Regions from separate parts of the Homo sapiens genome. Here regions 2, 3 and 4 are each linked to region 1. Evidence: promoter capture Hi-C in 16 types of primary human blood cells and fetal thymus (Javierre and others, 2016). All regions are on one chromosome and are shown on one strand. Each heading gives the region's core, a stretch centred on a gene start or on the middle of the fragment in contact. The rest is flanking DNA. Distances are from core to core; before and after follow the strand shown. Region 1 holds the start of DOC2A (double C2 domain alpha). Region 2 overlaps KIF22 (kinesin family member 22). Region 3 holds the start of MVP (major vault protein). Region 4 has its middle 6.5 kb from the start of ZG16.

Region 1 (2,700 bases), core at 107-2,606:
GTGCAAGAGGCTGAGTGGGCCCATGCGTGTGTGCGTCTGGGTCCCTGGCTCGGCCGCAACTGGGGCTGTGTGGGTGGTGGAGTGTCTCAGCAGAAATACTGAATATTGAGCCTTGCTGAAGCTGTAATCTCCACGCTGACTGCAGCTGTGGTGGCCGTCCCTGCCACCCCCCCACTGCCCTCCTCCCCTACCTACATGCACAGCCAGCAGGGCCCATCCCCCTCTCCCCCCACCACGGCAAGCCTGGAGACCCCCACCAGCACATGGGGCCTCCAAGCCCCCAGACTCACTGGCATCATCCGAGTCATAGCTGTCCACCTCCGCACCATCCTCAGGCGTGGTGGCCCCAAGGAGGGCTGCAGGGGGGGCCAGAGCCAGGGGGACCAGATGGGCGGGGGCCTCCCCGCCGCCCCCGCCGCCCCCTTCAGGTCCTGGTCCCCGGGGGAAGTAGTCAGAGATCTGGCGGATGGGCCGGATGGGCCCGGGGCACACGTTGATGGCCATGTGCTCCTGGATGTTGATGGTCATGCGATCGCCCCTGCGGCCCCTCATGCAGCACCCCTGGCTAGGAGAGGGCGTGTGAGCCAGTGAGCCCATCATACCTAGCCATCCTGGCTGAGGGCCAGGCGACGGCCTCCTCGGTCTGTGGGGCCCTCACTGGCCTCCCTTCCTAGGTGTCGAGGGAGAGGGTGGTGTGTGCCAGCCGGTGGCAGGTGGGAGGCCTGGGCCCTGCAGACCCCAAGCTGACTCCACAGGGGCTGGGCTGCCAACCCACTCCTTGCAGAAGTCGAGGTTGCACCACCCCGTCCTCACCCACCCACTTCTAGGTTGTCCCTGTATCATCTTGCCAGCTCCTTCCTCTCCTCCGGGGCTCCCCTCTGCTCCTGAGCCTGCCTGTCCCCCAAGGGGCCCTGCAGGGCCCCGCCTCTGTTTCTCGGAGGCTCTGTCCTCCTCTGCACCAGGCGCTGGTCTAGTCAGGGTGTCACCCACCCCTCTAGGCTCCAACTGCCCACTGTCCCCTCATTCAGCCCCAGGACCTGTCTGCCTGCCTGGTTCCCCCGCTCGCTCACCACAGCCCACGGTGGAGACCCCAGCCTCAGATGCCACCTCTGGCTCCTCAGGGGAGCCAGAAATTGCAGCCGCAGGAGAGCCGAACACCCCCGTAGCGCACACAGGCTGGCACGCTTCCCCGCACCCTCACGCCCCCGGCCTGCCCAGCCCCCTGCACCTGCCTCTGCCTCCAACAGGTGCCCAGGCACTGGGGGGACGGCGGGCGCAGGCTGGGCGGCGGCGGCCGGCGAGGAGAGCGCGGAGTCGAGCTGTGCGAGCCGAGAGGGAGGGAGCGCCGAGAAAGTGCGGGGAGGAGGGGGTGAGCGAGGTGGAGGCGAGGATGCAGCCGGCGCGGCGGCGGGGGACGGGGAGGGGCGCTGGGGCTGGGGAGGGGGCGGGATCTCGGACTCCCACCCGGGGCCCGCTCGGGAGCGCACGCGAGCGCGCACACACACGTGTGCTCGCGCGCGCACACTCACGCAGGGGCACGCGGACCGGCACACACTCGTGTGCACACATCCAACCGGGCACCCCCGCGCGCACACGCCCGTGCCCACGTGTGCACGCTCACACCCTTGCACACACCCAGGCGCGCGCTGGCACACTTACCCGGAGAACTTCGCACACACACGCACTCGCAAACACGCGGGCTCCCTGCGCCACCAGGAAGCAGCCGCCAGAATCGCCGGGTGTTCCCCAACTACTCCTGGGAGACCTGGCCCCCCGCCCCCGCCCGCGCGCGCGGCCACGGCGCCTCCCTCCCTCCCGGGTCCCCAAGGCCGGACCACCGGCCTCGTTGTCATGGCGACGCCGGCTCATCTCCCCCCACCCCCGCGCGTCTTCACGCCCCTCCCCCGCAGGGAGCTGGGGCCTCCCTCCTCCCTTCCCCACGTCCGTAGGGACCCACAGGTTGACAGGAGCAGGGGGTCGCCTGCTGTCACCGGCCGGGGATCTCGGGGTCTCCCGAGCCAGGCTGGGGAGCCTCACGATCTGAGGGAGGAGGCAGAGGTCTGATGCTGCGGCTTCCCCCACGCCCCCTCCCTTTGGCCGTTCAGGCCTCTCTCCTTGTGGCCCAACCCAACTCCCAGGGGCCCATGTCCCCTTACCAGGGATGGTATCTCCTTTGGGAACCACCCTCCCCCCTGCCATCCCCAGTTCTGCCCCGCAGGTGGGAAGGGGCGTCGGGGCTTGGCTCTGAAGGTCTCAGAGCCCTGCGGTAGTTCCCCATGGGCTGCCATTTCTCACCCAAACCTTGCCACCCCCAAGCCGCCCCCCTGCCCGGCCCTGCGCCTGCCACGGAGTGTCAGTCCACCCCTGGCCTTCGGTCTTCACTCACCTGTGCCCCAAACTTACCATCCCGAAGACACGAAGGGGCTTATCACCCTCGCTGCCCACCACTGACTCACCCAACCGTTTCCTGCAGTTCCTGGGACACACCTAGACGGCTCAGGCCTAGGGATCTTGGCTCACATGCGCTCCTCTACCTGGGAACCGCGCTTCCTTAGGAAGTCACCGTGGGTCCCCTCTTCCTAGGAGCCTTCCTGGGGCATCCCGCACTGCCCCTCAGCTCCAGCGCCGTCAGGACTCGGCTCAGCACCGCTTCGCCAGTGCCTCCCCCACCAGCAGGGAGTTCCACTGGAGCGGCTGATT
Region 2 (2,700 bases), core at 75-2,574, 210 kb before region 1:
TTCTTGATTCTCAGAATTTCTTTCTTTGGTCAAAATCTTCCTTCCTTGAGCAGAATCAGTTACTCCTTTGAGAGTGTGTTCTTATCTTCGTTTCCTAAATCACAGCAAAGTGTGGATATCTATCCTACCAGACTGAAAAACTCCAAGAGCAGGGATATCAGATCTATCTCTGTATTCCTAACACCAATAGAGAGATGAGGATGGAGTAGGTGTTAGGTGGATGCTTTTTAAGGTCTTTGTACAAGAAAGGGGATAGAGACGTTCTCTTAAATCCAAGGTCCAGATGAGAGTAGAATCCCTTACCCACCCCCACCCCACTCCACCCCTTACACACACACACACACACACACACACACACACACGCTAATTTCTTTCTTTCTTCCTGCAGGTTTGATGCCTTCTATGGGGAGAGGAGTACTCAGCAGGACATCTATGCAGGTTCAGTGCAGCCCATCCTAAGGCACTTGCTGGAAGGGCAGAATGCCAGTGTGCTTGCCTATGGACCCACAGGAGCTGGTGAGGGAGCCAGAAAAGAAACAGCTATGGGTCAGAAAGGGCTGGGGAAACGGAGAGGAAAACCTCACAGTTTTCTCCACTCTCTTCCCAGGGAAGACGCACACAATGCTGGGCAGCCCAGAGCAACCTGGGGTGATCCCGCGGGCTCTCATGGACCTCCTGCAGCTCACAAGGGAGGAGGGTGCCGAGGGCCGGCCATGGGCCCTTTCTGTCACCATGTCTTACCTAGAGATCTACCAGGAGAAGGTGAGGCCCCGTGCTGGTTGGGAGAGGAGCAACAAAGGGTCAAAGTAAGACCTGGTTCTAGAACATGAAGCTCTGCTGTAGCAGGGAGGTAAGGTGAGACCTAGAAAGACAGAGACTGGGGTAGCAGATGGTACAACTCCGAGAATAGAACAGAGAAAGGAAACTGATCCCCAGGAAGAAACAGCCTCTCTATGGAGAATTGCCCTTCCCCTTCACTGCTTACACAGGTATTAGACCTCCTGGACCCTGCTTCGGGAGACCTGGTAATCCGAGAAGACTGCCGGGGGAATATCCTGATTCCGGGTCTCTCCCAGAAGCCCATCAGTAGCTTTGCTGATTTTGAGCGGCACTTCCTGCCAGCCAGTCGAAATCGGACTGTAGGAGCCACCCGGCTCAACCAGCGCTCCTCCCGCAGTCATGCTGTGCTCCTGGTCAAGGTGAGGCCGCAGACAGGGGCGAGGACCTGGGAAGCCCAGGAGCCTGAGCTAAGCACGAGACCTTTGTTCTTACCCCCAGGTGGACCAGCGGGAACGTTTGGCCCCATTTCGCCAGCGAGAGGGAAAACTCTACCTGATTGACTTGGCTGGGTCAGAGGACAACCGGCGCACAGGCAACAAGGGCCTTCGGCTAAAAGAGAGTGGAGCCATCAACACCTCCCTGTTTGTCCTGGGCAAAGTGGTAGATGCGCTGAATCAGGGCCTCCCTCGTGTACCTTATCGGGACAGCAAGCTCACTCGCCTATTGCAGGTCAGGCCCACCTGTCTCAGGGAAGAAGGGGCTGCAGAAGGAGGTTCTCAGGCCTGCTGTGGGGTGGGGAATAGCAGTTGAGGCATAGGAAGGCTGGGCTTCTGACCCACCCACTGCCTGGTCTCACCCTCAGGACTCTCTGGGTGGCTCAGCCCACAGTATCCTTATTGCCAACATTGCCCCTGAGAGACGCTTCTACCTAGACACAGTCTCCGCACTCAACTTTGCTGCCAGGTCCAAGGAGGTGATCAATCGGCCTTTTACCAATGAGAGCCTGCAGCCTCATGGTGAGAACTGGGGGAGGCAGGAGTGGAAACGCTGGGTCTGGAAATTAGGGAGTTTGTTGAAACCACCAAGCATCAGCACAGAGGCTGACCACCCCCAATCCCTCTCTCCACCCCATCCTCCAATCATCTAGCCTTGGGACCTGTTAAGCTGTCTCAGAAAGAATTGCTTGGTCCACCAGAGGCAAAGAGAGCCCGAGGCCCTGAGGAAGAGGAGATCGGGAGCCCTGAGCCCATGGCAGCTCCAGCCTCTGCCTCCCAGAAACTCAGGTGAGCAGTGGGGCCTTGGGTGTATCCCCTTCCTGATGTATGGCTTAGCAGCAGAGCTGCAATGCCCGTCAGATCCTTGAGCAGAGAGCTGTGATCTTGTTCCTCTCCCATTAAATTCACCCTAGGCCGGATGCGGTGGCTCACTCCTGTAACCCCAGCACTTTGGGAGACTGAGGTTGGGTGGATCACCTGAGGTCAGGAGTTCGAGACCAGCCTGGCCAACATGGTGAAACCTCATCTCTACTAAAAAATACAAAAAGTAGCCGGATGTGGTGGCATGTGCCTGTAATCCCAGCTACTTGGGAGGCTGAGGCAGGAGAATCCCTTGAACCCAGGAAGCAGAGGTTGCAGTGAGCTGAGATTGTGGCCATTGCACTCCAGCCTGGGCGACACAGCAAGACTCCGTCTCAAAGTAAATAAGTGAATTCAACCCTGGCTAGGCACGGTGGCTCACGCCTGTAATCCCAGCACTTTGGGAGGCCAAGACGGGTGGATCACCTGAGGTCAGGAGTTCAAGACCAGCCTGGCCAACATGGTGAAACCCCATCTCTACTAAAAATACAAAAATTAGCCAGGCATGGTAGTGGGCACCTGTAATCCCAGCTACTCAGGAGGCTGAGGCAGGAAGAATTGCTTG
Region 3 (2,700 bases), core at 66-2,565, 190 kb before region 1:
CACCACGCCCAGCTAATTTTTTGTGTTGGCCAGGCTGGTCTCAAACTCCTGACCTCGTGAGTTGCCCACCTCAGCCTCCCAAAGTGCTGGCATTACAAGCGTGAACCACCATGCCCGGCCTGCACTCTTCTTTGAACAGAACTCTGTTCTTGTCCTGGGGCCTCTACCCTTGCCATTCCCCTGCCCAGTATGTTCCTCCCTGTTCTTCACATTACCTGTGCCTTCCTGTCAATCAAGATCTTTGCTTCTCACCCTCTCTGAGGTCCAACCCTGAACCTCAGGTCCTCCAAGACAGAGGCCTGGGGACCTGCATGTTTAACCAGCTCCCCAAGTGATGAGTGAGGTCCAGGCAGGTATGGTGTACACCACCTCCATCCCTTCCATGTATCTTACCTTCCTCTTCTCCAGGAAGCTCAGCCCGGAGCCAGAAACGGGAGGCCCGCCTGGACAAGGTGCTGTCGGACATGAAGAGACACAAGAAGCTGGAGGAGCAGATCCTTCGTACCGGGAGGGACCTCTTCAGCCTGGACTCGGAGGACCCCAGCCCCGCCAGCCCCCCACTCCGATCCTCCGGGAGTAGTCTCTTCCCTCGGCAGCGGAAATACTGATTCCCACTGCTCCTGCCTCTAGGGTGCAGTGTCCGTACCTGCTGGAGCCTGGGCCCTCCTTCCCCAGCCCAGACATTGAGAAACTTGGGAAGAAGAGAGAAACCTCAAGCTCCCAAACAGCACGTTGCGGGAAAGAGGAAGAGAGAGTGTGAGTGTGTGTGTGTGTTTTTTCTATTGAACACCTGTAGAGTGTGTGTGTGTGTTTTCTATTGAACACCTATAGAGAGAGTGTGTGTGTTTTCTATTGAACATCTATATAGAGAGAGTGTGTGAGTGTGTGTTTTCTATTGAACACCTATTCAGAGACCTGGACTGAATTTTCTGAGTCTGAAATAAAAGATGCAGAGCTATCATCTCTTAAAAGGAGGGGCTGTAGCTGTAGCTCAACAGTTAGGCCCCACTTGAAGGGAGAGGCAGAATTGTACTCACCCAGATTGGAAAATGAAAGCCAGATGGGTAGAGGTGCCCTCAGTTAGCACCTGTCCCATCTCGGGCCCTCCAACTCCTCCCAGTCCCACTCCAGTGCAGCCAGCTGGCTCCAAGGTAGAAACCCATGAGCACTCAGGGAGCAGTGTGCCTTCAGCTGCAGCAGAAGCAGCCCGGAGGATAAAATGAGAACCAGCTGCACACGGGCCCTTTAACTCCCAAGCCCCACCCCTGGGCTTGGCCTGCCTTGCCCTGCCGGGAAGTGATCCCCAAGGCAGGGTGAGAGTTCCCCATCTGAGGCGTTTGTTGCAGCTACCTGCACTTCTAGATGTGAGTACATTGTACTAGCCCCCCAAACCCCAAATCAGGGGCAGATCTTTGTATCCCTTGAGGCTCTCTTTAGTCCTGTCTTGCTTTGAAGGGCCTTGCTTCTGCTGGGGCAGGGAAAACATGTCTGAATCAGAGTGGGGAAGGAGGATGGGTGGTGGCTTTGCTTTTGGAGGTTTCACTTTCCAATAGTTGGGAGTCTTCTGGGTTTTGAAGTAAAGGCAGATTAACACCAACACCGGTCCCCCACCCCCCTGCAACTCTCAGGCCTCTCTCTGACTTCAGGGTCCCACCTGGGAAATCAGGTGGGGAACCTTACAGGGTCATTCAGACCCCATCTTAGCCCTAGATCGGTGCTTGCTCTACTCACCTGCACTGTCCTGGGGACCTGGGCTCTGGCCTGTCACCTTGAGCTCCAAGAATGTGACCTGTACCCATTCAGGCCCCTTAACTCTGACAGATGAGGGTTTCTTACTCCTCCATGCAGGGCTGGGCCAGCTGTTGGTCTCAGTCGATCATTCAGGAAGTCATTAGCAGAGTGATTTCCAGAAGGCGTAGAATTTAGTGACCAAGGTTCTTTCCTTTTTGGGAGGAGAAAGTGAAAACTAGGATGCTCAGCTGGACCCACCAGCCTGAGATTCTGGGGATTTTAGAGCTGTCCCTTGGGGAGCCAAGCACTTGGGGGTGGAGGTGATAGCGAGGCTGATGGCCCCTGTGTTCTCAGCTCTCTGCCTGGGTAGCCCCTGGGTGATGGGGGAGAGGCCAGCTGTCACGTGGGGTATCAGGTGGCTCTGCCAGAAACTCCCTTGGCACACAGAGCACTGGGTCGGCCCTCGGGTGTGGCTGTTTGGGCAGGACAGCCCTCTGTATGTAGCCTTGAGCAGGTAGGGGGGCCACCTTGAGTGGGTGGCCCAGAGACAGCCTCAGGGCTCCAAGGTAACGGGGTGCTCAGGTTATCTTGGGTGCTGCCCTCCCAGGTTCTGGGGGAGCAGAGGCTGGGCGCTGGCCCAACTTACAGGAAACACTCACCTTTGAACTGCCATTAGCACCATCTGGGCAGTACACAGCCCCACCCAGGTCCTCTAGTTCTTGTTCTCGGCTTAGAATCTTTGTGTTTCTGCCTGAGAAGCCACTGCCTCCTAGTTTGTGGTCTCTACAGTTATAGCCAGGTTGGACTTCCGGCTCCGTCCTTTGATAACTGTGTGCTCTTGGGCAAATTTCTTAACTTGCAGGTTCTTGTGAGGATAACATGAGTTAATTGAGGGCACTTAACACTACCTGGCACAGATTAAGCTCATCTGAAGTGGGAGCTGTTACTTAGGGGCGTTTGCCTAGAACA
Region 4 (2,700 bases), core at 17-2,516, 240 kb before region 1:
TGTACCAGGTGTGATGCCAGATGCTGGGAATTTGGAGATGACTGAGTCATGGCCCCTGCCTGAGAATGAGCTCTCAGTTTAGTGGAGAAGGCTTACATGTAAACATATAAATTATAGTGCAGGGTAATTAGAACCATAATAGAGTAATGTAGGAAACACACAGAAGCCAAAGAAAGGAATGATGAATTCTATTTGAAGAGGAGGAGCTGGGAGGAGAAGAGAGCTGAGGCCTTCCTGTGAGAAGGGTGGGTGGTGGTGCAGGCTGGTGGTGGTCCCCTCTGAATAACCTGGAGGTTGCCAGGTGGGCAGAAGGAGGAGAGCATTTTAGGCAGCTGGAGTGTGCATGGGCAGAGTTGAAGATTAGCAATTGCAGGTCACTGTGGGCGGAGAGCAGGACTCCCCTTGGCAACCTGGTGAAGTCACTTCTGCCCATTACTTTATTCATTGGAACAACTAAGAGTGAACAGAAAAGCAGCGCTCATGCCGTCAGACCCTTCTTCCAAATGAAAACGTGCACCAAGGCCCAGTGTATAAATAGGAAGCAGATAATGTTTTTTTCTTAACAGGAAACAGATCTCCCACTGTTTGGAAATATATTTTGAAACTTTTTTTTTTTTTTTTTGAGACGGAGTTTCACTCTTGTCACCCAGGCTGGAGTACGATGGCGCGATCTTAGCTCACTGCAAACTCCACCTCCTGGGTTCAAGCGATTCTCCTGCCTCAGCCTCCCAAGTAGCTGGGATTATAGGTGCCTGCCACCATGTCTGGCTAATTTTTGTATTTTTAGTAGAGACAGGGTTTCACCATGTTTGCCAGGCTGGTCTCAAACTCTTGACCTCAGGTGATCTGCCAGCCTCAGCTTCCCAAAGTGCTGGGATTACAAGCGTGAGCCACCGCAACTGGCCAAAACATTTTTATTATTTTATTTTATTTATTTATTTATTTGAGACACGGTCTTACTCTGTTGCCCAGGCTGGAGTGCAATGGCATGATCATAACTCTCTACAGCCTCAAACTCCTGGGCTCAAGCAATCCTCCGACCTCAGTCCTCCAAGTACTGAGACTGCAGGTGTGTACCACTATGCCCAGCTAATTTTTTTTTTTTTTTGAGATGGAGTCTCGCTCTGTGGCCCAGGCTGGAGTGCAATGGTGCGATCTCTGCTCACTGCAGCCTCTGCCTCCCGGGTTCAAGCCATTCTTCTGCCTCATCCTCCCAAGCAGCTGCAGCAGATTACAGGCATCCACCACCATGCCCGGATAATTTTTGTATTTTTAGTAGAGACAAGGTTTCACCATGTTGGTCACGCTGGTCTCGAACTTCTGACCTCAAAGATCTGCCTGCCTTGCCCTCCCAAAGTGCTGGGATTATAGGTATGAGCCACAGTGCTCAGCCCTCAAATAATTTTTTTAAATTAGTTTTTTAGTTTTTGTGGGGATGGGTGGGGGGGGTCTTGCTATGATGACCAGGCTGGTCTCAAACTCCTGGCCTCAAGCTATCGTCCTGCCTTGGCCTCCCAAATTGCTAGGATTACAGGCATGAGCCACAGGTGTCGGAAACCTTCTGGATGGGGGTGGAGAGGCAGATCCCCACCACAGGTCTGAAATTGCATCAAAACTTTGAAAAGAGGGCAAAGCTGCTTCACCTGAGAGAGGGAGGAGCTTTCAGGGGAATTCTAGATGGGAGGGGAGAAGGTCACACCACATCTGCCATGCCTGTCTCCACTCTTACCCTGCCCAAGTCCCTCCTCCACTTTATCAAAATCAGGAGAGAGCAATCCTTCTAAAATGCAAATATGAGCATGTACCCCTCTGTTCAAAACCCTTCCATGTCTCCCCTCACTGTGAGAAAAGAAGCCAAACTCCTCCAGGCCGGGCGCGGTGGCTCACACACCTGTAATCCCAGCACTTTGGGAGGCCGAGGCAGGCGGATCACGAGGTCAGGAGTTCGAGACCATCCTGCCAACATGGCGAAACCCCGTCTCTACTAAAAATACAAAAATTAGCTGTGCGTGGTGGCGCATGCCTGTAATCTCACCTACTTGGGAGGCTGTGGCAGGAGAATCGCTTGAACCAGGGAGTCAGAGGTTGCAGTGAGCTGAGATTGCATCACTGCACTCCAGCCTGGTGACAGAGTGAGACTCCATCTCCAAAAAAAAAAAAAAGCCAAACTCCTGACCACACCTCTCAGGCTCTGCACACTCTGCCCACTGGCTGCTGCCCAGGCCTCACAGGTCGGCTTCCCTCATTTCCCTCCAGCCACCCTCCTCTCTTCATTATTTCCAAATTCATCACACTTTCAGCTTGTTATCTATGGCAGATAACCTCATTATGGCAGAAAATAAGACTGAAGCATGTGACCAAACATAGACAGACTTTTTCACAAGATAGTCAGTCTCTTGGGCTTATTCAAATTCCAAAGAGAATCATTTACAAGTTAATTCCTATCTTTCGGGTCCATTCATTTCTCCTTTTAAAATATTTTTTTTTTGTTTATTTATTTATTTATTTTGAGACGGAGTCTCGCTCTGTCACCCAGGCTGGAGTGCAATGGCATGATCATAACTCTCTGCAGCCTCAAAATCCTAGGCTCAAGCAATCCTCTGACCTCAGTCCTCCAAGCACTGAGACTGCAGGTGTGCACCACTATGCCCAGCTAATTTTTTTTTTTTTTTTGAGACGGAGTCTCGCTCTGTGGCCCAG

What was found. The method cuts DNA at HindIII sites, captures the fragments that hold promoters and counts their contacts. A CHiCAGO score of 5 or more calls a contact.
Region 2: a fragment that was not itself captured here is called in contact with the fragment with the promoter of DOC2A in region 1 in 6 of 17 cell types (M1 macrophages, endothelial precursors, M2 macrophages and 3 more); the score reaches 8.8 in M1 macrophages.
Region 3: a contact is called between the fragment with the promoter of MVP here and the fragment with the promoter of DOC2A in region 1, in 13 of 17 cell types (erythroblasts, megakaryocytes, M2 macrophages and 10 more). The highest score is 11.5, in erythroblasts.
Region 4: a fragment that was not itself captured here is called in contact with the fragment with the promoter of DOC2A in region 1 in 13 of 17 cell types (M2 macrophages, endothelial precursors, activated CD4 T cells and 10 more); the score reaches 10.5 in M2 macrophages.

What each region holds. Positions count from the first base shown.
Region 1 is chr16:30,009,671-30,012,370 of GRCh38, forward strand. It overlaps DOC2A (double C2 domain alpha), which reads right to left and starts at 1,357. Exons shown (of 11, transcript NM_003586.3): 1 at 1,233-1,357; 2 at 291-565. The coding sequence starts at 552. RefSeq lists a silencer at 1,264-1,323. The HindIII fragment of the contact is 12,263 bases long and covers 1-2,700 here.
Region 2 is chr16:29,797,986-29,800,685 of GRCh38, forward strand. It overlaps KIF22 (kinesin family member 22), which reads left to right. Exons shown (of 14, transcript NM_007317.3): 3 at 389-516; 4 at 608-762; 5 at 990-1,199; 6 at 1,279-1,509; 7 at 1,643-1,796; 8 at 1,928-2,063. Among named protein-coding and RNA genes, the nearest start is that of MAZ, 7.2 kb to the right of the region's middle. The HindIII fragment of the contact is 5,122 bases long and covers 1-2,700 here.
Region 3 is chr16:29,819,147-29,821,846 of GRCh38, forward strand. It overlaps MVP (major vault protein), which reads left to right and starts at 1,316. Exons shown (of 15, transcript NM_005115.5): 1 at 1,316-1,364. It overlaps PAGR1 (PAXIP1 associated glutamate rich protein 1), which reads left to right. Exons shown (of 3, transcript NM_024516.4): 3 at 409-2,700. The coding sequence ends at 608. It overlaps MVP-DT (MVP divergent transcript), which reads right to left and starts at 1,221. Exons shown (of 4, transcript NR_186424.1): 1 at 1,038-1,221; 2 at 394-455. RefSeq lists enhancers at 960-1,029, 1,721-2,287, 1,750-2,039. The HindIII fragment of the contact is 7,186 bases long and covers 1-2,700 here.
Region 4 is chr16:29,770,397-29,773,096 of GRCh38, forward strand. No RefSeq gene overlaps it. Among named protein-coding and RNA genes, the nearest start is that of ZG16, 6.5 kb to the right of the region's middle. The HindIII fragment of the contact is 4,460 bases long and covers 1-2,700 here.